Linked DNA regions of Homo sapiens: regions 1, 2, 3, 4, 6 and 7 are each linked to region 5. Evidence: promoter capture Hi-C in 16 types of primary human blood cells and fetal thymus (Javierre and others, 2016). All regions are on one chromosome and are shown on one strand. The core of a region is centred on a gene start or on the middle of the fragment in contact, and the rest is flanking DNA. Distances in the headings are between cores, read along the strand shown.

Region 1 (3,468 bases), core at 542-3,041, 460 kb before region 5:
CCATGCGGTGAGTGTTATAGCTCTATTAGAAGCCATGAGTAATGGAAGAGAACCGTGGAACCCAGCAACTAGTGTTCAGCTCGATTAGGATGAACCCGGGCACTTAGCCATGCAGGAACAATGGCGAGCCTTTAGCCTGATCAGGAGCAGCAATGGGCACCTCACTGGATCAGGATTGCAACGGACACCCTGCTGGATCCGGAGGGGTGGAAGTCAGTAGCAGGTCTGCGATGGCAGCAAACAGCAGTGGTGGATGGCAAGTGAAAGCTCAGCTCGAGCCATAACAAACACGGACCAGAAGAGTGTGCACTTGCAAGATTTAATAGAGTGAAAACAGAGCTCCCATAAAATGGACCCAAAGGGGGTTGCCCCGAATTTCTTGTTAAGAGGCTATTCCTCCTCTGGGTTTTCTTGTGCACACTGGAGCTGGACCTCTGCCGAATGCTTGTTAAAGCTGATTACAGACCAAGGGCTTATCTACAGTACAGTTCACTCCTGTTGTTTGAAGGATAAGTTAGATATGAAGGCATTTCCACATTGATGACAGGCATAAAGTTTCTCCTCCATGTAAGTTCTCTGGTGTTTATAAAGTTTACAGCTACTGCTGAAGGCTCTTATGCATTTATTACATTTCTAATGTAGGTTCTCCCAGGTTGTCCATAGTCAGAGAATTGACTGAAGGCTTTCCCACATATCTGACATTCATATGATTTTTCTCCCCTATAATTCTTATTTTTGGTGTGTGTGTAAATCAAGTGAGAGCTCTTGATACAGGAGATAGAAAGAAATTATTTAGGCAGATAGTGAGGGCAAAAGAGTCCTTGACAGAACTTCCCTTCTAACAAAAAGCAGCCCAAGAAATCATTCCTTTTTTAACAAAGAGAAGCCTGAAAGATTGAGCTGCAAGCATTGATAAGGAAGCTGGAAGCTTGCACTGGGGGAGGCCTATAGCTACACCCACAGAAAAGGGCTACCTGGGGCCAGGCATGTCCACCATGGGGCTCCACCTTCCCTTTTTTTGTTACCATGTATACAGTCCGAAAGAAATAAGCAACATGGAGTAGCTACCCACCTGCATAATAAAAGATTGGGGTGGGGGCTGCCAGAGATTCATGCCCTGTGCAAATGGCACAATTGGTCCTAACCAGATTTTCATGCCCTATGTAGATCAGACACCATCTTCCCATTAGCTCATCTATAAAAACCCCCTGCATTTCACCAGAGATTGGCAACCCATTTTCCTGGGACCCCTCTCTGTAGGAGAGAGCTATCCTCTTTCTTTCACCTATTACAGTTCTGCTCTAGACCTCACCCTTGTGTGTGTCCGGGTCCTTAATCTCCGTGGCCATGAGACCAAGAACCTCCCCCCAGACAACAAGGCCACTTCACTGTGATCTAAAATCCTGGTCACAGTTACTTTATTTCTTTAGTGCAAATTCTCTTATGTTTACTAACCAGAAATTTGACCACACTCTTCCACATAAATGACATTCATATCATTTCTCTCCAGTGTGAATTTGCTTGTGTTGACTGAGGGATAAAGGATAACTGATGGCTCTTCCACCGTCATTACACTTACAGGATTTCTCTGCAGTGTGAATTATGTGGTGTGAATAAAGCTGAATGCTCAGGTGGAATTCTTTCCCACATTTACTATATTTACAGAGTTTCTCTGTCATGCAAGTTCTTTGGTGTGAATAAAGGTTACACTTTGTCTGAGATGCCTCCCAAATTTATTGCATTTATAAGGTTTCTCTTCTGTGTGAGTTCCATGGTGTGAATAAATTTGGTGTTCTGACCAAAGTGTTTCTCACAGTAATTCCATTTAGATGGTTTATCTCCAGTGTGGATCTTCTTGTGTTGTCTAAGGCCAGAGTATGTACTAAAGACTTTTCTACATAGATGACATTCATATAATTTCTCTCCAGTGTGAGTGGGCTCCTGTTGTCTAATGTAAGATCAATGATTAAAGACTTTCCTGCATAGATGACATTTATAAGGTTTAACTCCAATGTGAGTTGATTTATGTCAACGAAAGGACTAGCAGTCACTGAGAATCTTTCCACATTGATTACAGGCATGGGGTTTTTCCATGTGGGCTATCACATGCTGAGTCAATGTGGAGCTGGGATGGAGATTTTCCCACACTCACTGTATTCAAGGGCTCCTCTCCAGTGTGAGTTCTCTGTTGTTGGGAAGGTGACAGGCTGCTGAAGGACTGATTACCCTCATACTTTCATTAATTTCTCTACAGATAGATTCTGGAATGATCATTTCGTGATAGTCTCCAGTCAAAATCACTTCCATATTGCTATATGCAAATGTATGTTAGTTACACACAGACTCTCTTGCTTGCACAGATATTTTCTCTTTTGTAGCATCTCAACGGTATAACTATCTGATGTATTTTCAAGGCTTCATTATTTTTCAAAGATGAGGTATCAGCCATGTCTATGCAATTGTCCTTTTATAAAGAATTCAGGTTATAATTTTGAGCTCAGGTTAATTTCTTTCCTAAATTCAAATATCCAAAACCATATGAAGGGACACACTCCCAGCTCTAATTAAAGCCATGTGACTGTGGTGTGTTCCTAACTCAGCCCATCCCCAGGTCTCTAATCTGGAGGAACAGGGTTCACCCCCATGAAGCTTATCATTGACAAGCAGGTAGAGGGACTCCTTCCTCCAGAGAAAGTGTATGGATACCATTTCTTGTTTTTAAAGGCCACCCTGCCTGCCTAAAATAATTGAAAAAATTAAATTGCTAGACTGGCATTAGGAGAATGAACACACTGAAAAGGATACAAGGCTCACGTGGGTAGGTTTCAAATACTGGCTCTCACATGGGAGAGACGTGAAATGGAGGAATACACCAGTGACTAGGAAGACATTTGGGGAAATTAAAAATTTTAAAGTATTTTCAAGAATGAAGAGAAAAAATAAAGATGTAATATTGGAGAGGTCATGAAAAGGAAAATCATCAAAGGGAAAGGACCAGGGCAAAGGTCACAATGTGAAAATTTACCTCTAAGAAGACATGAATATATGTGAATGAAACTGGTACATATATGAGAAATAATAACATTATATATGGAATTTTTCTCCCAATGGCTTCTCATAGTTTTCTAAAAATATTATTCATTCAAGGTCATCTGCATTCGACATTATCAAAGTTCTGTCCCTCACTGACCAGTCACCTCCTGCACTGAGCCTATCTGTCTGCAGCTCACCTGGATTTGGGCTCTGGGGAAATCCTTCCTTCCCTCCACAGCACTGCTCCTTGTTTCAACTGGGAAATCATGAATGACTTGCAGAGCTGATGCTCTCTGGGCAAAGTTGCATGGATTTTGAATTCTGTGTGAGAACTGTGCGTGATCTTCAGATCTAAGGCAGGCTCCCAACAAGACAAGGCGAGCATGGAAGGGCACCCGGGGAAGAGCACCTTGAACACCAAGGACATTGAGGGCC
Region 2 (3,684 bases), core at 187-2,686, 390 kb after region 5:
TTTTTTTGAGACAGAGTCTCGCTCTGTCGCCCAGGCTAAAGTGCAATGGCACAATCTCAGCTCACTGCAACCTCCACTTCCCGCGTTCAAGCGATTCTCCTGCCCTCAGCCTCCTGAGTAGCTGGGATTACAGGCACCCACCATTATGCCCGGCTAATTTTTGTATTTTTAGTAGAGATGGGGTTTCACCATGTTAGGCTGGTCTTGAACTCCTGACCTCAGGTGATCCACCTGCCTCGGTCCCCCAAAGTGCTGGGATTATAGGCATGAGCCACCGCACCCAGCTACCTTCTCTGTCTTTCCCATACTCTTTCTCTTGGAATGTAATCCTCTGCATTTGACACAGTAACATAAACTGACAGTGAAGCCAATTTTCAGGTCATTTTTCTTGGCAGAGCTTATCGGCTCTGTCCCAGTGTTATGGATCCACATCTTACACCGACTTCCATAAAGTGAAAGATTGCACAAGGACATAAGCAACTTGAGGCCAGAGACGACATCCTGTTCATCTTTATGTTCTCAACACCCTCGCAACTGAGGGCACACTGGGAGCCTTCAGTGTTTCTGAAAAGGGCAGTAAAGCAGGAGAGACACACAGTCATTACAGTAAAAATAACATTCTGAGCTACTAGTGTGGCAGTAGTCTGTGGAATAATCTCAGATAGCAGTATACAGTTGGGAAGCACGGAGCCAATGTATGGGATAGAACATTGCACAGTTCTCTTTAGAATGGGAGCATCAGTGACCTTTTTGTCCTTAGTTTTCTAAGACAATGCAATATAATAAAATGATAGGCTGAGCAACAGAAAAATTTGGTGGAAATCAAGTCTGATATATGCTGAGCATATGTGAAATCAGTTTCTTAATCTGAGTGTTAGTCACTGTTAGAATGTTTGATAATGTCTGGAATGAGTCTTTTGGTTTTATAGTTGACTTGAGGTTTTGCTTAAAAAGAATAATTTCATCCTTTGTTAGTTGTTTTGCTGTTTTCTACTTCATAATATAAAAGTAAAAGCACTCCAAATTTCATTTTGGAACATCTTACTTGTTCCTCATTAAAACCATAGACTCTCCCAACCTTAAATTACCCATTCTAAAATTAATGGTTAGGGGGAATTCCACTTCTAGTAAATAGCTCCAATTGGACTAATTCTCCTCCAAATTAACAGTCATTCTGGACAAAATATTTATTTAATTGTTAAGAACACTGGAGCACGATCCAAAGCAGGCAGATATTGGAGGGCAGTAGACACTTGGAAGAAGAGAACGACACTGGGTGATTTTCCTGTTTCGGCCTTTTATCCAATGGCAGGCCCCCGCCAGGGATCTAAAACTCTGTTAGGAAACCTGCAGTCTTACTGGCCTGAGGAACCAGAGGCCAGAGTTCGGGACAAACAGCCTCTGGAAAGTGAGGAAGAAAATCCTGAAAAGGAGAGCCCCAAGTTCGTCGCATGAACTTAGAAATTTCTGGCTGACAACTGAACCGTGTATACTTAGGCCAGACTCCAAGCAGCCCAGCCAAGGCTAAAAGCATTGACTGACAGGACTTTACAGATAGTGGTTTGCAGGGCTTAGCTGACCGACCCTCTTCCTACTGAAGGAAATTACTTGTATATAAACCACACAACACAAAGTCTCTGAAAATTTCCCCAGAAGCATACAACAAATAAACATTCATTCAGGAAAATCCACTACTAAGTCTTAGAAAGAACAGTGAGTCTGTGGCATTTGAGCCACAGCCTCATCCTATCCCATCCCCACTCCCCAGCTTCATGTGACAAACTCTATTCTGGACCAATGCAGCCAAAAATTAAGGGGTCTCTCTTCCTCCAGCTACCAGTCTAGGGCTTTGCCCCAGGTGCGACAGGCTGAGAATCGTAGAGCTCCAATTGCCCCTACCCTAGCCTGCTTAGTGCGGAGGCTCCACATTGGGAGGGGCAATCTGAGAAGACCAGCGGCTATCAACCCACTCACAGAGAAGGGATGTCAGTCCTGGAGAAGCAGGCTGCTGTCCAGCCCCCAGAGGAGATCCAGGCTCTGAGACTGGTAACCCAGCAGTTATGCCCAAGGGGACTGGTATTTGGTACGGAGAACGAGAAATCTTTGCCTAAGGGGATTGTCAAAAACAATAAGACATCTTACCAGTGAGCCATTAAGGAAGGGGCTGGTAACTCCATGCTATTAGTAGCAAAAAGCAAAATGACAGACCAGCCAGAAGTTTAACACAGAAAACCAGAGAAAGAGATAGCCAAGAAGAGCCCTCCTGGAATCTGGTTTATCCTTGAGGTTCGGGAAGTATGTATGGACAGGGCTGTATCCACTCAGGAGCAATCAGATGTGAAACAAACTTGAAAGCATTCTCTAAGGCATACACAGATCCATCAGCAAAGAGCAGAAATCTTATTAGCTCAAAGTGCTTAAGCAGAACCTCTGACCAAACACTGGCTGAACACATAAATGTGTTTGTTCAAAGAACTAAAGGAAATCATATTTAAAAAAGGAAGGTAAAGGAACAATTACAGTTGTTCCTCCATATCCATGGATTCCTCATCTGTGGATTCAACCAACTGTGGATCAAAAGTATTTAGGAAAAAAAAAAAAAAGTTGACACAGTTCCAAAAAGCAAAACTTGGATCTTCCACATGCTGAGTACTATGTTGAATCCATGCAAATGAAGTGATGTGTAAGCATTGTATTAGGTATTATTATAAGTAATCTAGAGATTTATTTAAAGTATACAGAATGATGTGAATAGGTTATATGCAAATTCTATGCCATTTTATATGAGACTTGAGCATCCATGGAGTTTGGTATTTGTAGGGGGTCCTGGAATTAATCCCCCACAGATACCAAGAGATGACTTTACTCACCAAACAAACCAATAAAGAGATAAAAATTATTTTTAATAAATCAAATGGAATTCTGAAGTTGAAAAGTATACTAAATGAAATGAAAAATTCACTAGAGGGGCTCAGTAGTAGATTTGAGTTAGGAGAAGAAAACCAGTGAACTTGAAGACGGAACAACAGAAATTATACAATCTGAAAAACAGAAAAAAGAGTGAAGAGAAATTAAAAGAGCCTCAGAGAAATGTGAGAAACCATTAAGCATACCAACATATGTGTAATGGAAGGACTAGAAGGCTAGGAGAGAGAAAAAAAGAACAGGAGAAAATATTTTTTCAGAGTTCATGACTAGTCAGGTGCAGTGGCATGCGCCTGTTGTCCCAGCTACTCAGGAGGCTGAGGTGAGAGAATTGCTTGAGTCTAGGAGTTTGAGGCTGCAGTGTGAGAAAACAGCACCTGTGAACAGCCACTGCACTCCAGCCTGTACAACATAGTGAGACCTTCTTAAAAAAGAAAAAGAAAAAAAGAGTTAATGGTTGAAAAAGGCCCCAAATTTGATGAAAAATATTAATCTACATATTCAAGAAGCTCAATAAACTCAAAGTAAGATAAATGCAGAGACCATACCCAGACACATTACATTCAAAATGCTGAATGCCAAAGATAATGAGAAAACTCTGGCTAGATGTAAAATAATATAGCTATATAATTAAGACTTTTTATTAAATTGGGAAATTAAACATACATATACAAAAGTACACAAAGCAAATGTCAACAGGCAAAACTAAACCAATGAGATGTTGGAATATTCTGTATCAGGGGTTGTAAACTATGGTCC
Region 3 (3,513 bases), core at 724-3,223, 430 kb after region 5:
ATTTATCTCTGTACCAGATTAGGAGTTTCCTATTGTGTGTGTGTGTGTATGTATGTGTGTATATAACATGTATGTATGTATGTATATAACAAATATATATATTTCAATATATAACAAATATATATTTCACTATATAACAAATATATACACACATACATATATGTATATATGCATTAAACACATATATACCTATATATGTTAAACATATATATTAAAATCTTATATATGTATTATGCTAATATTTATATAGTTAATGTTGGAGTTACAAGCCTCTTTTTTTTTCTTTCCTTTTTTTTTTTTTTGAGAGAGTTTTGCTCTTGTTGCCCAGGCTGGAGTGCAGTGGCATGATCTCAGCTCACTGCAACCTCCGCCTCCTGGGTTCAAGTGATTCTCCTGCCTCAGCCTCCCAAGTAGCTGGGATTACAGGCACCTGCCACCACACCCAACTAATTTTTGTATTTTTAGTAGAAATGGGGTTTCACCATGTTTGCCAGGCTGGTCTCAAACTCCTGACCTCAGGTGATCTACCCACCTCAGTCTCCCAAAGTGCTGGGATTACAGGCGTGAGCCACTGCGCCTGGCCTACAAGCCTCTTTTTATGTCTAGATTATCTACTTAAAATATTGCTCTTGGCCAGGCGCAGTGGCTCACGCCTGTAATTGCAACACTTTGGGAGGCTGAAGCAGGCAGATCACTTGAGGTCAGGAGTTTGAGACCAGCCTGACCAACATGGTGAGATTCCCGTCTCTACTAAAAATGCAAAAATTAGCTGGGCAAAATGATGCACGCCTGTAATCCCAGGTACTCAGGAGGCTGAGGCACGAGAATCGCTTGAACCTAGGAGGCAGATGTTGCAGTGAGCCAAGATTACACCACTGCACTCCAGCCTATGTGATGGAGTGAGACTCTGTCTCACACACACACACAAAAAAAGGCTCTCATTCCACGTTTATTCTTCCTGCTGTGACTTTTTTTTAATGAGGCCTGTCCTTGGTGAGTTTTAGTATAGAGGAAATGGAAAGAAGAGTAAGATAGTAAAACCAGTTTTGAACTGGTTGAAACTGAGAGTGGAGATACTTATGTGGCCCTGGAAGTGGAAGGGAGAGGGACAGAGGCCCATGAGGTAAGGGGCTAGCCTCACAGAAGCTGCTGCCCCAGACGGTATACACGCCCATGGGGCAGGGTGTTCGCCCCCTGAGCCATCTACCACATGCTGGTCTTTCCCTTTACCTTCTAGGGTATGTTTATGGGAAATGATGGATGGAATGCCCCAAATTGGACTTTGATATCCTGAGAAATGGCCATTAAATATGGATATAAAATAAGCTAAGCACTGCATTTAGATAAACTAAGAAATTATAAATCACTTATTTGTTTGATAAATGTGCTTCCATGCAATGAAATTTTTAACAAGGAACATACAGTTTGTGAATTCTACCAGGTTTATTAAACAGATTCTTTCTCTATTTCCAGGGTAAGCTGGTTTGGGGAAATGAGTAGAATTTTATACATTCTACATGTACGTGTATATTTTTAATTAATATTTAATGCCTATAAAAATATATTTGTAATCTGTATAAGATATAGAGAGTCATAATAAAAGCAACCCTCAGCTTCAGAAATAAAACATTACTGACCGTTGGGAATCTCATGCACACCCATACCCAGTCCCATCCTCCCCGGATTTGTGTTCATCATTCCCTTAAGATTCTCTTAAGATTCATCCTTGTGGGCGGCTCTAGTTCATTCTCTTGCAGCTGTACAGTATTTCAGCCTTTGGAGGAAACATGAGGTGTTTCTAGTTTTCCTGTGTCTCAAACAGGATTGCTGTGGACTTTCTTTGCCCTGGTAAGCACAAAACAGACTCAGTAAGGCAGATGCCTAGGAGTAGAGTCATGGCTTACTCAGTCATGGCAGGGGCTTCCTAGGTAATGATAACCTGTCCTTACCAGCTCCGAACCTTCCCCTGGCATGGTGGAGCCTCCTCATTGTGCTGTGTTCTTAGGAACACCTCATGTTGTCAGACTTCAAATATTTGTCAATTTAATGGGTAGAAAATGAAGTATCATTATAGGTGTAATTTGCAAATTCCAGGTGCTAATCAGGTTGTGTTCTTTCGTGTTTATTGGATATTCATGTTTCCTCTCCATTGAAAGGTCTGTTTGTGTATTTCGCCCATCCTTCTGTTAGATCCTTGACTTTCTTGCTGCAGGAGTTCCCACATCATCCAGATGTTTCTAGTCAGATACATGATGTCAGTGTCTTCTCCCTAGCCCCCTTTTCCCCTTATCTTTTCACTTTCTTCATGGTGTCTTTTGAAGAACAGAAACAGTACATTTTCACATGGGAGAATTTATCATTTTTCCTTAGGGTTTGTGCTTTTTTATATCTTATTTTAGAACTTCTCCCTTACCCTAAGAAGGTCATGAGAATATTTTTTCATGCTTTTTTTCCAGTGTTTCAAAGTTATGTCTTTTATACTTAAGAATATTAATCACCTGGAATAATTTTGATGTGTGGTGTGAGGTAGGAATCTAGCTTTCTTTTTTTTTTTTTTTGAGATGAGTCTCACTCTGTCGCCAGGCTGGAGTGCAGTGGCACGATCTTGGCTCACTGCAATCTCCGCCTCTCAGGTTCAAGCAATTCTCCTGCCTTAGCCTCCCGAGTAGCTGGGACTACAGGCATCCGCCACCATGCCCAGCTAATTTTTGTATTTTTAGTGTAAATGGGGTTTCACCATGTTGGGCAGGATGATCTCCATCTTTTGACCTCGTGATCCTCCCACCTCGGCCTCCCAGAGTGCTGGGATTACAGGCGTGAGCCACTATACCTGGCAGAATCTAGCTTTCTTATATTTTCTATGGACATCTAGTACATACAAATACTGTACTTGTATTCCTATGGACATACAAGTACTGTTTACTGTACATGTGTATACACGGTATATGCCCCACATGTACAGTGCCAACCTAGTCAGGTTTCAAGTTTCCACATATGCATGGCCTGTTTCTGGGCACCCAGTTGTGTTCTCTAGGTCTGTCCTCGTGCTAGTCCAACATTATCTTAATTACCACGGTTTTTGATTATATTGTATATGTTGAGTCAAGTCTCCTGACCTTTTTTCATAAGTGTCTAACTTTTTCTGGCCCTTTCTGCCATGTGAATTTTTTTTTTTTTTTGAGACAGAGTCTCACTCTGTCACCCAGGCTGGAGTGCAGTGGCATAATCTCAGCTCACTGCAACCTCCGCCTCCCAGGTTCAAACGATTCTCCTGCATCAGCCTTCTGAGAAGCTGGGACTACAGGTGTGCACAGCCACGCCCAGCTAATTTTTGTATTTTTAGTAGAGACGGGTTTCACCATGTTGTCCAGGCTGGTCTCGAACTCCTGACTTCAGGTGATCCACTTGCCTCGGCCTCCCAAAGTGCTGGGATTACAGGATTACAGGCATGAGCCACTGCTCCCAGTCTGCCATGTGAATTTTAGAATCTGCTTTTTGAGTTATGTGCGCGTG
Region 4 (3,421 bases), core at 66-2,565, 410 kb after region 5:
CAGAGGAACATACTCCCCTTTACCCCTACCCTCCTACTCTGTCTTCTCTCACTGCTTCTAGTGGATTGCCTATGACGGTGCCTTACAAATAGAAGGCCCTAAAAAAAAATTAATTGATCAATAGTATCCACTTGAGATATAATAGACACAGAAGAGTTCACTTAAGGATCTTAGGACACTTTGTACTTATTAACCAATCAACAACACTGATTAATCAAATGTAATTTTCTTTAAAAAAGAAAAAATCACTTGCTTGTGGTTTTATAAAACTGTTTTTGAAATTAAATAATTTTAAATAGCATAACTTAAGCTAGTTAACAGGCCCTTCATTTGTGTATTATTCAAAGACCTTAGAGTTTTACCTGACTTGACTTTTTCCTCAAAATTCAGGAAATCCTATTGGCTCTATCTTCAAAATACATGCATGCTCCAACCCACCAAATTTACTATTGTAGTCAAAGCTGCTGCCATCTATTGCCTGGATTACAGTACAGGCTTCTAATTTGTTTCCCTGCTTCCAGTCTTATACACACCGCTTCCCCTCCCCACACACCTTAAATCACTTCTTAGGACAGCAGCCAGAGTCATCTTGTCAAAATGTACATCTAATGATGTCACCACTCTGCTTAAAACCTTCTAGTGGCTTCTCATCTGAGTACAGCCAAAGTCCTTACAATGACTTACAAAGCTTTACATGATCTGACAATCTCTCCCGTTTGCCCCCAGTACAACTCGTTCTTCCTACTTCTCCATCCAGCCCTGATAGCTGCTTTGTTGTTCCTGGTATATGATGGGCACATTCCAGATCCAGCCTCTTGTATTCTGCCTGGAATCCTAGCTTGTTTTCTTCTTCCTACAGGTCTCTCTACTAAAATGTCATTTTTCACTAAGATCTTCCTGGATAATTTACCAAAAATTGTAATCTTTCTCCCTGGCCTTTATTACTATATAACAATACCATATTTTAACTGTTGTTATGTTTCTCCCATCAAAAATATGAGCAGGGAATTTTGTCAGTTTTATTCACTGCTATACGCACAGTGCCTGGTGCTCAATAGATAGTCATTGAGTAAATAAATTTTTTACTTAAGTTTATCTCAGGAAAAATCAATAACTTATATATAACTTTAGTTATATAAGATAAATTGAAAGCTAGAACCACCAAAAAGTACCTTTTAGTCTCATTTTTAATCTCATGTTGTTCTCTTTTCTTTTCCATCATTTTCCCCCATCTATTCTTCGGCAAATCCCTCTGAGGCAATGGTATTGCATGTTGGACATAAAGGTCAGTAAGACTGTCTTTGTTTACTCTTACATCAGTTTCAACAGCTATGTTCTTCTGCGGGAAAGGAAACAAAAGTAATTTCAAAACAATGTTTTTAATTTTAACAAGTAACCACCTTACCTAACATGGTAAAACATTACTGCTTAAATAACAAATTATAAAAAGCCATTTTCACAATAACACGCGCACTTAGAGACAGTGTTAAAGGTTAAATTCTGTAGATACTAGGTTCAGCCTCATCTTAAAAACAATGGTCATATTTTCTCAGTGTGACAGGGATTGCTGTCCACAACTGCTCAGCCAACACACCAAGCATGAAAGATCATTTCCAGTAAAATTATCTTAATATACAAAGGGGATTGAAAATGGGAGACTGCCTGTTGACAAAAGAAAGCTAACAATGATTAACAATCACCACATTCTGTCAATAAGCTACCTTGAGTGTTACTATCATGATCAGATTAGTGGGATGAAGGTCTCAGTCTGTCTTATATTTCTCGTGCTTCTCTAATCTGGTGCTTCCTAAATTGAAGTTAACTACCAAGATTTCAAATAATACCACAAATAGAAACTGTTATTCCCGTACTGACGACAGTAGCAGTACATCATTAGAAAAGCCTGCACCCCATTTTCACTGGTCCTTTCAAGTAAGCTTCCAGTCATTGTCCAACCATCTCTATCTAAATCACCAAATTCTTCCTCATTTTCCAATTTGTTCTTGACATCATGAAAAACATAGCATAAGCACAGGAGTAGTCATGAAGACAGAGTTTGGATTTAAGAAGGAGAAATGAGAATGGAAATGAGATCACAGGCTCTTCAATTTCAACTCAGAAAGGCTTGAAAACATTTGTGTTTAGTACCACCGACAAGCCTATATCCTCTAACAAAAACTAATAAAAGCACATTTTACTTCTCTTTCGTATATTAGACTCATCTATTTTTAGCCCGTACTCGCTCAGAAGTAGGGGAAACTACCAGGATTCTCTTGGACAACGTTCCCAGAGAATTCATAAGCCCATTACTTTGGAAAGTATTGCCTTAGGACAGTGGTGGTCAAAGCATGCTTTCTGGGCCAGCAACAAGCTCGTTAAAAATGCAAGATTTCGGGCCACATTCCGGAACTACTGAACGAGAAACTGAGGACGGAGCCCAACAATCTGTGTTTTAGCAAGTCCCTCGACTCATTCTTAAGTACCTAAAAAGTTTGAGAACCACAGGTAAAAACTTACTGACATAATTAAGCTCTACGTGGCAAGAGGACCTGAAATTCAACAAAGATAGGGTACTAAGGGGAAAGCCATATGAAAAACAACAAAATACGCTACATAAACCCCAAGGAAACTTCCAGTAATTCTCTATCACTTAAAACATCACTTTTTTCCTTTCTCACTTTTCTCCTATTATCAGAGGCCACACCAGCTGGAAAAGAGCACGCACTACATGGAGAGCCAGGAGCCCTGAATTCTCCTCCCGGAAGTACCATTTACAGATGTTGTGACCTTAAACAAGTCACTTCATCTCTCTGGAACTGTTTTTATCATCTTTAAACGATTAGAAGGTGTGGAATGGACGGTTTCTCAGATGCTTTCCAGTCCTGACAGTCCATGATTTCTACATTCCATGTCTATTCCACGCTTCTTTCTTCCTCAGGTCGGGGCTTACACACAGGCAGGGGGTGTCGCCTGGGACTCCTCTTTACAAGCCATCGGGACTCAGATAGATAAGCCCTATTTCCCAAGCATTCCTGATATTCTACGGACGTCTCATTTTTGGAGAGGGGGCGAGGAGCAGGAGCGAGGAGACAGCTGCCTGGTCTGTGTGGGTGGAGAGTGACACAAACCCGGCGGGAGTGTCCGTGGTTGCCGAGGGCTACTTAAGGCAAGCTCGGGTGCAAGCGCCTCACCTGGGAAGGCCCACCCGCCCACCCTCCGATCCGGCGCGCCCAACCTGCTCCAGAGTGAGGAGAAGGAACTCCTGGGACAGCAGCTCCGGGTGCAGCAGCAGTTCCGAGTCCGTGCAGCTGCGACCGCCCACATCCCCCGCCATGGTCGTCGCCAGGAGACCCCAGTCGGCTACCCACAAAGCCCCGCGAAGGAAGCGTTGCGGAAGTGACGTACTCGGGCGGAGACTCGC
Region 5 (3,729 bases), core at 1,140-3,639:
AATATGGATGGTAGTGCATTTCTCAAATATAGTACTGTGTACATAAGATCTGCTGTTTGTTGGAAAAGCTAAATAACCGAAAATGTAAATGACAAAGCCTGGGAATATGGCAGGGTCAAACAGAGCAAGGATGAAGAAGATTTAAGTATGCAGCGTGTCCTAAGCAAAACACAAAGCATGAAAACTGAGCACAGCCACCTGCAAGGCACCTTCAGCAAGCCCGACGGTTAACAGGGTCAGTTTCTCCACAAGTGGACAGAGGGGGTTATGCAGCAGCCAACTCTTCCTGATGGCAATTTGTGACCCAATTTCATCCAGTGTTTCATGACCAACCCCCCTGAATGTTTATGAAGCAGGAAAGAAGCTCAGAATCCAGGCGAGGCCTCCGGGACAGGAAGTGGGCCAGGCACCTCCACAGCTTCCTATGCCTAAAGTTCTCCATTTCAGCCTCAAGTAGCCGCCAGAAGACCACTAAGATTCCGCCACCTTCTCCAATCAAAACTACATCTAACCAACCTCCAGGGCAGAATATACTGAGGTAGGATTTTCCCTCGTGTTCACTTCTTCACAAGCAGGTTAACACTTGCTTCTCAGGAAACCCCTGTTCCAAACGTCAAAAAACCTCCATGTCTAGCCCAATCTCCAGGTGAAGTCAATTTCTTCTCCACGTGTCCGATGACTGCCATTCTCTTTACGTAAAACTCGCAAGGCTTGAATCCTGTTACTAATTCACCTGCTTATCTATGAAGCTTGCAAAGTGAATTGAGGGAGTGTTCACACGCACAGTTCCGTTTTGGTAAGTTAAAGCGGCCCAGGTTAATTTCATTTTCAGTCACTTTTGAGACTTGATAACTACATCTAAAACAGAGGCATGAAAAACACCCTGAATCACTTTCATTCCTACACAAAATCCCTTCCGAGAAGCGGGGACTGCGCCTGGGCCAGGAAGGGACTCCCCTACCTGTAGGTCCCAGCAAGCCACGCCCACCGGCCTCTCAGGGTTGTTTCTTTCTGGGTCGAGGGACGGAGCTGGCCCTTGCGATATTTTAGGCCCCCTCCTGCCCACACTGGGGCCTGCTCATCCCATTATGCAGATGCAAACTTGGCAGAAGCAGCCTTAAACCTGTTGGCAAAATAAACAAAGCCAAATAAAGAGGAATCTGCCAACCTGAATTGTGTGAAGTGGCCAAGGCCGACTCCACGCACGCTCGGCTTTGTCCCTGAAGCTGTTACAATACTAGTTTAAGTCAGGTGCCTGGGGTCCACCAGCCAATGACCCCTAGCATCCACCGCAGACCTTCACAGAGATCCCCATTGTCTACAAATTAAAGCGTTTTGCAAATTAAACCCCTCCACACAATGCCAAGCTAACTGTGCTCATAAGGCAGTTACCCTCCATGCCTTAAAACTCACATATCAAATTTTTCCAAAAGCACTCGGTGATTAAATCGCCCTGAAAAAAACCGAGAGAGCCGAGCGATTGTGAGAAACTTTGGTTCATTCAGGTGGCTGTTAGAGTCCTGTAAATCTGGGGCAGGGCGCAGAGCCTGAAGCCGGGCACAAAAGCTCCCTTCGCCGAAGCGAGGACCTCCTTTATGCAATGTGACAGCAGCTTTGTGCGCGAACATAAATAGTTGTAATAAACACGGTTAAGTTCTCCCGGCCGATCGCGGCCTCCCCCGTCCCTGCGCCGGGGCCCTGCGATCCGCGGCTATTCTTCCCCGGCACACGCGCCCTGGCGACCCTGGCCACCGCACGGTCCCACGCTAGCCCCGAGCTCCGTGCCGGCCGCCCGCCTGCAGGCCAGGCGCAGCCTGCGCACCCGGGGGTCTCCAGTCCCCGGGCCCCGCAGCCGGGCCCCCTGCCCTGATCCTCGCCCGCGCCCTTGGCTGGCGTCCCCGCCCCTGGGCCGGCCCCCGATGGTGGGGGTTAGGGATGGGAAGGCGGGCAGGAAGGTGCAGAGCCGGGAGGTGCCCGGCAGTCCGCGGTCGGGGGCGCCCAGGCCGCGGCAGGGCCGAGAGCACCGGAGGGGCGCGGAGGGGACCCGCTCTCCTGGCCCCTTCCCGGGCGCACCCCGGCCCGCGAGCCCCGCCGCGCTCCCAACTCCGCCCAACGGCCCCAAGTTTGTGGCCCCCGCCCCACGCCCGCCTAGCCGCGCTTACCTCGCCGTGGGCCGCCCGCGGAGCCGGAGGGCAGCGGCGCGGGTCCCGGGGCGGTGGCCGCGCTGCGCCCGCCCAGGCGCCGCTCTTTGTCTGCGCCGCTCCCTCCTCCCGCCGCCGGGCGGACGCTGCCGGCCCGGGCGGACCCTGCCGGCCCGGGCGCCGCGAGCCTCCCGGCCGCCAAGCCCTCCCCTCCGCCCGCCGCCCGCTCGGCCGCGCGGCTCCGGCCTGACGATCCCCGCGGCAGCGGCGGCGGCGGCGGCGGCGGCGGCGGCGACCCTCCCCCGGCGCGCAGCGCCCGCCTCCTCCGCGCTCTTCCTCCTCCTCCCGCGCTCCTCCCCGGCCGCGCCGTGACGCCGCCCAGGGGCCGGCCCAGGCCCGGGCGCGCGGGGCGGGGACCCGAGACCCACCTGGGGCGCCCCCCGTCGTCGCCAGGCTCCGCGCCCGGGTCCCGGTACGGGCGCCGGGATAGCGCGGGGCTGCGGGACGCTCCGCTCTGGAGGCGCAGCACGGGCCGGGCGCCGGGGGCAGGAAAGGGTCCCCACGCCCGAAATTGCGTGCGGGCGGTGGGGGGCAGGGTAGGTGGGTGGGGAGGAGAGTGAAAACACAGACGGCAACTTCCAGCCTGGGATGACTGCCGGGTGGGCTTTGCGTCCTCTTTTTTGTTTGTTCGTTGTTCTTATCACGAAGCTCTAGTTGCTGGGCAGCCGCCCCCCTCCCGGAAGCATTCCCACGGCACTCAGCTAAGCAGGCCTGTTGTCCATCAGAAAAGTGACTTAAATAAAAATGTCACTTCCTCCCTGTAATTGCTTGTGGGCATTTTTATTTATTTGCTTTGCATCTATTTACTTTCCCAACCAGACACATTTTTAGTCCATCATCCCTGTCCGAGGCACTTCCTAAAAGAAGAAGAAACTCGACCTCTGTTGCCTCCCAGGCATCCAGGCCAGCCCCAGCCTGTGGAATCCTGGTTGCACACCCGTGGGGGCAGAACCCGAAGAGGAGCTGCCCGAATGTGCCCCTAGAAGGAGTGTCGCTAATGATGGGACCGTTCAGCTCACCCAGCCTCGAGTTGTGGCTAGCCTATAAACAAACTTGGAAGATGAAAACCCAAGAGCAAGGGGAAAGACACAAGTTTCCCTTTCACAGACACATGCATCCGGATGTCTTTTCTCCTCCCCATATGGTTTCCCAAAGGAAATCCTAATATTCAAATGATTCTGATTTCCTGGCAGGATAGCCTGCATCCATGTTAATGAGATTCTTTCTTAGGCTCCTGGTCTCTGCTTACTATTAAGGCAATAATAATTTACCCAAGGTTACAAGGCTGTATTATTTGATTCACTCATCTCCTGCTTCCTTCCAGAAGGGAAGTACCCAAGGATAGGTAACTAGAGTCAGCGTAGCTTTGAAGTCAGACAGGTGAGTGTTTGACTGTTGACTTCCTGAACTGTGTAACGTTGCACAGGTGGTCCTCAGCCTTTCTAAAATCTGTCATATGGGGAGATAATATTTACTTACCTCCTATGTGAAGTACCCTGGCAGTAGGTAGCCCTCAATAGCTCAGTAA
Region 6 (3,573 bases), core at 7-2,506, 400 kb before region 5:
GGAATGCTAAGGGGAGCAGAGACTTGTGGCAGCACAGGGCAATGAATGGTGACCTCGAGCACCTCTCTGGAAACGTTGGCCTCAAGGTCTCAGCTTGCCTGGAGGATTTCTGAAATGCCTTCAGGGTCATTCTCCCATTGTCTTAAGGGACAGAACCTGGCTTCCTTCTAACCATACTACTCTGTGTATCAAAGGGTCAATTGTCTGCACTCTTGCACACTTTTTCATTCTTTATATGGTAAGGCTGGGGACTTAAAAAATTTTTTTTGTTCTGTTTCCCTTTTAGTTATACAATCTGTCTTTAAATCATTTTTCTCTTCCCTTGTTTTACTCTATGTAGTTAAAAGAAGCCATGCAATTCTTTTAATATTTTGCTTAGAAATTTCTTCCACCAGATGTCCTAGCTCATGGCTTGTAAATTTTGCCTTCATAAAGCCAGAGGACACAGACACATTTCAGCCAAGTTCTTTGCCACTTTGTAACAAGGATAGCCTTCACTCCAGTTTCCAGTGGTATGTTCCTCATTTCCATCTGAGACCTCATCAGAATGGCCTTTACTGTCCATATTTCCACAATTGTTCTGATCACAACCATGTTACAGGTAATCTCTAAGAAGTTCTAGACTTCCCCCACAGCTCTTCTCTTCTGAGGCCTCACCACTGTTTCTTTAACACTCCATTCACAGAAGTCTAGGCTTTTTCTAGCATGCACCTCCAGATTCTTCCAGCCTCTACTCATTACCTAGTTCCAAAGCTTTTTCCACATTTTCAGGTGTTTGTATAAGCATCATCCCACTTCTCTGGTACCCATTTTCTGTCCTAGTCCTTTTTGTGCTGCTATGACAGAGTACCTAAGACTGGGTAATTTATAACAAATTTATTGGCTCATGGTTCTGGAGGCTGGGGAGTCCAAGATCAAGGGGTTGTGACCTGGTGAGGGTCTTCTTGCTATGTCATCACGTAGTGGATGGGTAAAGAGAGAGCAAGAGAGAGACCAAAGGGACTGAACTCGTGCTTCTATGTGGAACACACTTCCACGATAACACACTCACTCCTCTGATAATGGCATTAATCCATTTACTTCACCTCATGGCCTAATCACCCCACCTTTTAACACTGTTGCACTGGGGATTAAATTACCAAAATGTGCTTTTGGTGGACACGTTAAAAGCACAGCAGCACTGTTACAGGAATGCTGCAAAATCTTGCCATGAATTTTATTATGTGCACATGGAATGATCTTCCTGTCGATGCTGAGTATTATAGAATTTATTTTGCTTTACACATCACCACAGCAAACAGACTTAGTTTTTTTTTTCCCCTCATCTGCCATCTCATAGGTTAAGCACATTTCTGAGGCATTTGGCATGTGAGTCTGGTATATTGTTGCTATAACTTAAAGCCTTTTCAGTAAATTGGTAAGCCTTAGGACAGCTTCAACAGAAAGAGGAGACTTGCTTTGAAATACATTTTTTGATTTTTTGCTAATTTGCTAAGCATCATGAGTTTGACTGCTGACCTTGAACTAGACCACTTTAGCTGCCTATTGGCACCCACAAGAGCGAGCAAGAAAGCACACTGAGACAAACCCCTATACTGGAAAGCCATGCAAAGCCGTGTAAGTTCTAATCCATCTCAGTGTAAGAGGTCTTACTTCTTTTCTCCTGTTCTCTTTTGGGTATTAGCTCCTTGTTATTCAAAGAATATCCTTGGGTTTGGTGATTAGTGTTCCTGATAGAGCTTTGTAAGTGCTAAGCTTTCACCAAATTTGTTTCTATTTGAAACACTTGCCTAATGGGCTAACATTGATTAGGATAAAAAATTGCATAACCATCCAGCTATATTATATAAATCTTAAGTATTTTAGGTAGAAGGAAATTACTTCAGAAAAAAAAATTCCAGTGCATTTTAGTCAAGCTAAGGTGCTTCCAACAATTTTACGTCAGTACTAAGACTAGTGAGATGTTGGAGATGATCATGTGTAATTTAATACGCTGCATCTCTGATATCTCAGAACTGTCTGCCAGGTATTTTGGGTGCAGAGATAATGTTAGAGTGCCACTGAACATTTTGTTTTCAGAAATATTTGCATATAGAGAAACAGTTATGTTAAAAGGGGTTACATTTCTTTTTAAAAGTTGCAAGTTTTTAAATGTAAAAATCATGGAAAACTTGGAAAAAATGCAATAACGTGAAGATAAAATGAAATCTCATCCCGTGAGTTAAGCTCTAGTGGTGAGTCAACTTTGAATTTCAATTATTTTTCTGGAAAATCGTTTTTCATAGTCATTGTTCAGGTATAGCAGTAGAATGTGGGAGCTCTTAAGATGAAACACGAACCAGACAAATTGACAGGCAGTAGAGAGCGTGTAATTAGAAAGACTGTAGCTTTAGTGTGTCCCAGCTAGTGATCTCTGAGGATTTTAGTCAAAGACGTAACTTCTCTGGGTGTCAGTTTCTTATCTTGAAGGCAAAGGGGATTTGGAAAATGGTGCTGTTGGTAAAGCCAAATGAAAGCTATCGAGCATGAGGATGCCTGGTCTCACCCATCCTGTCTTAACCATTTGATTTGCATTTCATCAGAGCATATGTAATATCTATGTGGTGGTTAAGGGATGGTTATTCTTGAGGTTGGCCTTGTTAACTGAAAAACCAAACTCTAAAATATTTTAGAGGTGTATTATGATCCAGTATGAGTAACTGCAGCCCCAGGAAACACAAAACCAAGAAGCCTTGAGTAAGTGTGCCCGAGGCAGGCGGATTAGTTTAGTTTTATACATTTTAGAGAGGCAGAAGTTACAAGGAGGTATAAATCAATATATAGGGCTTTTACATTGGTTTGGCCCAAAAAGACAGGCTATTTTGAAGTGGGGGCTCACAGGTATAGGCGGGTTAAGAGATTCTGTATTTTATTTTATTTATTTTGAGACAGGGTCTCTCTCTGTCACACAGGCTGGAGTGCAGTGGCACAATTGCCACTCACTGCAGCCTTGACCTCCCTGGCTTTAGAGATTTTTTACTTTGTAATTGGTTAAAGGAGTAAATCTTTGTGTAAAACTTTGGAGTCAGCAGAAAGGAATCTAAGTTATGACAAGGAAGTCTGTTCACCAATACACTGGGTCAGAATGACTTGGAGGGATGTGACTTAGCTCCTGTCTGGCACGACCCTAGGTCCTGTTTATGATCTCTGTTTTAATATTAACGTTGGTCAGTTGTGTCTAAATTCCAAAAGAGAAAGTATAGTGAGGCATGTCCAATCTCCTTTCACATCACTGCTGGGAACTCAGCTTTTCAGGTTTCTCTGGGGTTCCGTTTGGCCAAGAGGGGGCCCACTCAGTTGGGGGACTTAGGATATTTATTTATTTATGAGACAGAGTCTCGCTCTGTCACCCAGGCTGGAGTGCAGTGGTGTGATCTCAACTCACTGTAACCTCCACCTCCTAGGTTCAAGTGATTCTTGTGCTTCAGCCACCATAGTAGCTGGGATTACAGGCGTGTAGCTAATTTTTGTATTTTTAGTAGAGACGGGGTTTCACCATGCTGCGCAGGCTAGTCTTGAACGCCTGGCGTCAAA
Region 7 (3,705 bases), core at 982-3,481, 440 kb before region 5:
CCAAGGTGTTGGCAGGGCTGAGCTCCCTCGGAATGCTCCTCTGTGGCTCCAGGGTTTCTTGTCTTTTGCCTGCACTGCTCCAGCCTCTGCGGTGACATGGCCTCCTCCTTTTCTGTCTGCTAAATCTCTCCTGGGTGTTTCTTATAAGAACATTTGTCACTAGATTTAGAGCCCAACTGGATAATCCGGGATGATCTTTTTGTCTTGAGATCTTTAATTACAGCTAAAAAGACCTTTTTTCCAAGTAAGATAACAATCACAAATTCTAGGAATTGGAATGTGGACATATTTTAGGGGGCACCGTTAAACTCATGGTGATCTTTCTTTAATCACTGTGGACCCGTAGCTTCTTTTAGTCTTTGAGCACTTCCTTAATGTCTAGATGTTTCAGGCTCATTTTCTTTTTCTACCCCAAACCTGGAATCAGCCTTCTCTCCAAGGAGCCAGAATTGAATGGAATCATTGGCCACTTGCTTGGTGTCTAGAGAGTGGGAGAATTGGTTGGTAGTATGGGAAAAGCACACACACGTGGTATCAGAAGTGTTCTGTAGGTAGAAACAGGGTTTAAGACTTGGGCATCTTTATTTTCAACAATTTTCCCATTTTCCACCATAGTTCCTAAGAAAATGGACAAGGTAAAGTAGTCAAGGTAAAGTGCTGAGTACCATGAGAGAAATGAGATCTGGGACTTGGAGAGAATGGGATGCCCTTAAGACCTGGGGCATTGAGTTGGCATTTAGCAGAAGGATACAATTTGGGCAGTGGAGTTGAAGGTGAAAGTGATGGAATGAGCAGAGGCTGGAGTGACACAATGCCAGGAGCAGGAGTCTTTGTGGCCCATAAAGGCAGAATGTGGAAGTCTGACCTGACATAAACTTGATTTAATGACATGAGTAAGCCCTCCATAAGAATTTGTGCAGCATGAGAGAGATTTTGATGAACATGCCTGAAGTGTTCAGACATTAGGGCAGGGCAAAGTATAATCAGTTTTGCATTTTGGGGTTGGCCCGTGTGGCCTGAAATGTGCTTTGTGGTGTGCATGTCTCCTGAGCTGCCTACCTTTTGTAGATATGTGACTGGATTCTAGTCCTGGTATATGATATGTATGGTACTTCTGTACAGGCCAGTGCTGTGATCTGAATGTTTGTGTCCCCTGGAATTCACATGTTGGAACCTAATCCTTGAAGTGATGGCATTAAGAGGTGGGGTATTTGGGAGGTGATTAGGTCAGGAGGCAGAGCCCTCATGCATGGGATAGTGTCTTTGTAACAGAGGCCCAAGGGAGTTCATTCCTCCCTTCCACCATGTGAGGATACAGCAAGAAGGCACCGTCTGTGAATAGGAAGTGAGCCCTCACCGCCAGTGTCTTGATCTTGCACTTCCCAACCTTCATAACTGTGAGAAACAAATTCCTGTTTATTAGCCACCCACTGTGTAGTATATTTGTGATAGCAGCCTGAACATGGACTAAGACAGCTGAGAAGTCAAGAACATGTCTGATGTGAAGTTGGAGAGCTTTCACAAATAGATATGTTGAATAGGTGAGGCCAGTTACCAGATTCTTCATGTGTACTGAACCCACATTAATGTCTACTGCAAATTTCTTGTCTTGCTTTTTGTCTTACAAATATGACAAGTCCTAGGAATTACCTGAAGGGTAAATGTGGGGAGGATTAATTCAGGGTCAGCCCTTTTCTTTTTCTTTTTATACTTTTATTTTTTTCTGAGATGGAGTTTTGCTCTGTTGCCCAGGCTGGAATGCAGTGGTGCGATTTTGCCTCACTGTGACTTCTGCCTCCCAGGTTCCAGCGTTTCTCCTGCCTCAGCCTCCTGAGTAGCTGGGATCACAAGCGTGCGCCACCACGCCCGGCTAATTTTTGTATTTTTAGTAGAGATGAGGTTTTACCATGTTGGCCAGGCTGGTCTCGAACTCCCGACCTCAGGTGATCCACCCACCTCGGCCTCCCAAAGTGCTGGGATTAGAGGCATGAGCCACAGTGCCTGGCCAGATCATCCCTTTTCTGAATAAAGCGGTCTCACCCTATCACGTGGTGCAAGCTTTCTAACCTTCTGTTTCAATTTTTTTTTTCCATTTGTAAAATGAAAATACTCCTTTGCCTTGCAGGTAAAAATAATTTGTTTTAAATACTGTGAGGAATTGAAGGGATTTCTCTAAAGAGCTGATAACTTCACTTGATGAGCTTCAAGGGAAAAAAGGTGTGGGTGTGTGTTGTAAAGTAACCTGCAACATGGAGGGACTCCTTCCAGGCAGGAAGGGCAGTGACGGCCAGCAAGTGGGAACTTCTCCTCTGAGGGGGGCTGAGGGTTTCCTCATCGCCCTGCATTTAGAAGGGCCAAGAGTGAATTTGGAGTTAATCCATCAGTTTCTTTTTGGTTAAGCTTTTTAGAGTTGCTGTAACCAAAATAAATAAGTGAAGTAAAGCAACAGCAGAAAACGTTTGAACTTCAAAGCAGTCTTTTTCAGAGGGAGTCTGGATGTGCTAGAAAAGGAAAACAATTTTGTTAGGGTGGTGAGATCTTGGAATGTTATTCTTAGTATCTTTGAATATTTTTATAGTATTTTTAGAAATTGAAAGCAAAGCCTGCTGGTTCTAAGTTAGAATTTGGTTGACATATATACTGGGGGTGACCTTGCTTTTTTTTTTTTTTTTTTTTAAAAAAGACTTGAGCAGGCAGCTGGGTTTTATCAGCAACAGAACATTGGTGGTGTAGGATGGCTTGGTTGTAACCAAGGGAAAGAACCAAGTTATTCTGACACTCATCAAAGGGGCTAGTGATGGCTCTGGTGGAAATGGCCATTAGCTGTGAATAATGGATCCTCGTAAACAGGGCTTCTCAGCAAAACTCATACATTGCCAAATCAGGATCTTTTTCTTTTTTTCTTTTGGTTTCTTTTGCTGTTCTGTGGAATTTAATTCTGATTCCCTGCTCCCTTACCCCAGTGCATCCTAATTATTTAAAAAACAGAATTTCTATCCTAGGTTCTTAATTCAATGAGAGGACCCCACTATCCCAACGGAAGCGCTCTCTGCCCTCCTTAGGCTTCACCTTGCCTGCGTTCCCACCCCACCCCCACCCACCAGTGTAGATGCTGAAATGCAGCCCTCATTTTGGGCAGGAGAAGCAGCACCCAACTATCCTGCAGTGAGGCGTGAAGAGGGGAGATGTTCTCTCCATTTCATAGGTGGGGAAACTGAGGCATGGAGAATGAGCCCAGAGCACTGACAGCCCTCTGGGTTGGGGCACAGCTGTGGTGGCTGAGGATCATGCCCGTGGGTGCTGTGGTTTGGAGATGGTCCTCCTAGATCCCTCTCTCACCTTCTTTCCCTCTCTGCCCTTTTTGAACACAAAATGAAAAGGCTAGCTTAAAACCATTATTAAAATTTTTTAAGCTCCCATTTGAAAATTACAAAATACAGGAGAAATGAGAAAACAAGGTGCTCAATGTGGAAAAGCTAGAGAATGAAGTGCAAAGAAGAGAAAAATCCCAGACCTCATAATTTCTGCATATTAAATTGCCTTCCCATCCAGAAATAGCGCCTAGCTTTTCTTTACCAAACTTGTTCAAGCCACTGCCCGCGGGCTGCATGTGGCCCAGGACAAATTCATAAACTTTCTTAAAACATTATGAGTTTTGTTTTGCTTTTTTTGCTCTTCAGCTATTGTTAGCGTTATATGTGGCCC

The links. The method cuts DNA at HindIII sites, captures the fragments that hold promoters and counts their contacts. A CHiCAGO score of 5 or more calls a contact.
Region 1: a fragment that was not itself captured here is called in contact with the fragment with the promoter of NCK2 in region 5 in 1 of 17 cell types (naive CD8 T cells); the score reaches 5.4 in naive CD8 T cells.
Region 2: a contact is called between a fragment that was not itself captured here and the fragment with the promoter of NCK2 in region 5, in 2 of 17 cell types (fetal thymus and naive CD4 T cells). The highest score is 6.6, in fetal thymus.
Region 3: a contact is called between a fragment that was not itself captured here and the fragment with the promoter of NCK2 in region 5, in 1 of 17 cell types (neutrophils). The highest score is 5.3, in neutrophils.
Region 4: a fragment that was not itself captured here is called in contact with the fragment with the promoter of NCK2 in region 5 in 11 of 17 cell types (fetal thymus, naive CD4 T cells, activated CD4 T cells and 8 more); the score reaches 20.3 in fetal thymus.
Region 6: a contact is called between a fragment that was not itself captured here and the fragment with the promoter of NCK2 in region 5, in 4 of 17 cell types (activated CD4 T cells, total B cells, naive CD8 T cells and 1 more). The highest score is 10.6, in activated CD4 T cells.
Region 7: a contact is called between a fragment that was not itself captured here and the fragment with the promoter of NCK2 in region 5, in 1 of 17 cell types (activated CD4 T cells). The highest score is 7.7, in activated CD4 T cells.

What each region holds. Positions count from the first base shown.
Region 1 is chr2:106,206,116-106,209,583 of GRCh38, reverse strand. No RefSeq gene overlaps it. Among named protein-coding and RNA genes, the nearest start is that of UXS1, 14 kb to the right of the region's middle. The HindIII fragment of the contact is 1,721 bases long and covers 931-2,651 here.
Region 2 is chr2:105,356,625-105,360,308 of GRCh38, reverse strand. It overlaps a transcript of C2orf49 not described here and a transcript of FHL2 not described here. Among named protein-coding and RNA genes, the nearest start is that of C2orf49, 21 kb to the right of the region's middle. The HindIII fragment of the contact is 6,495 bases long and covers 1-3,684 here.
Region 3 is chr2:105,316,480-105,319,992 of GRCh38, reverse strand. All of the region lies in intron 1 of TGFBRAP1 (transforming growth factor beta receptor associated protein 1), which reads left to right. Among named protein-coding and RNA genes, the nearest start is that of TGFBRAP1, 11 kb to the left of the region's middle. The HindIII fragment of the contact is 4,217 bases long and covers 1-3,513 here.
Region 4 is chr2:105,337,501-105,340,921 of GRCh38, reverse strand. It overlaps C2orf49 (chromosome 2 open reading frame 49), which reads right to left and starts at 3,382. Exons shown (of 4, transcript NM_024093.3): 1 at 3,236-3,382; 2 at 1,173-1,339. The coding sequence starts at 3,334. RefSeq lists enhancers at 3,290-3,339, 3,350-3,421. The HindIII fragment of the contact is 1,249 bases long and covers 691-1,939 here.
Region 5 is chr2:105,743,572-105,747,300 of GRCh38, reverse strand. It overlaps NCK2 (NCK adaptor protein 2), which reads right to left and starts at 2,389. Exons shown (of 5, transcript NM_003581.5): 1 at 2,163-2,389. RefSeq lists enhancers at 1,079-1,128, 1,229-1,298 and silencers at 1,669-2,058, 2,169-2,228, 2,419-2,738. The HindIII fragment of the contact is 4,864 bases long and covers 752-3,729 here.
Region 6 is chr2:106,146,934-106,150,506 of GRCh38, reverse strand. All of the region lies in intron 5 of UXS1 (UDP-glucuronate decarboxylase 1), which reads left to right. Among named protein-coding and RNA genes, the nearest start is that of UXS1, 46 kb to the left of the region's middle. The HindIII fragment of the contact is 1,002 bases long and covers 756-1,757 here.
Region 7 is chr2:106,182,212-106,185,916 of GRCh38, reverse strand. All of the region lies in intron 1 of UXS1 (UDP-glucuronate decarboxylase 1), which reads left to right. Among named protein-coding and RNA genes, the nearest start is that of UXS1, 10 kb to the left of the region's middle. The HindIII fragment of the contact is 342 bases long and covers 2,061-2,402 here.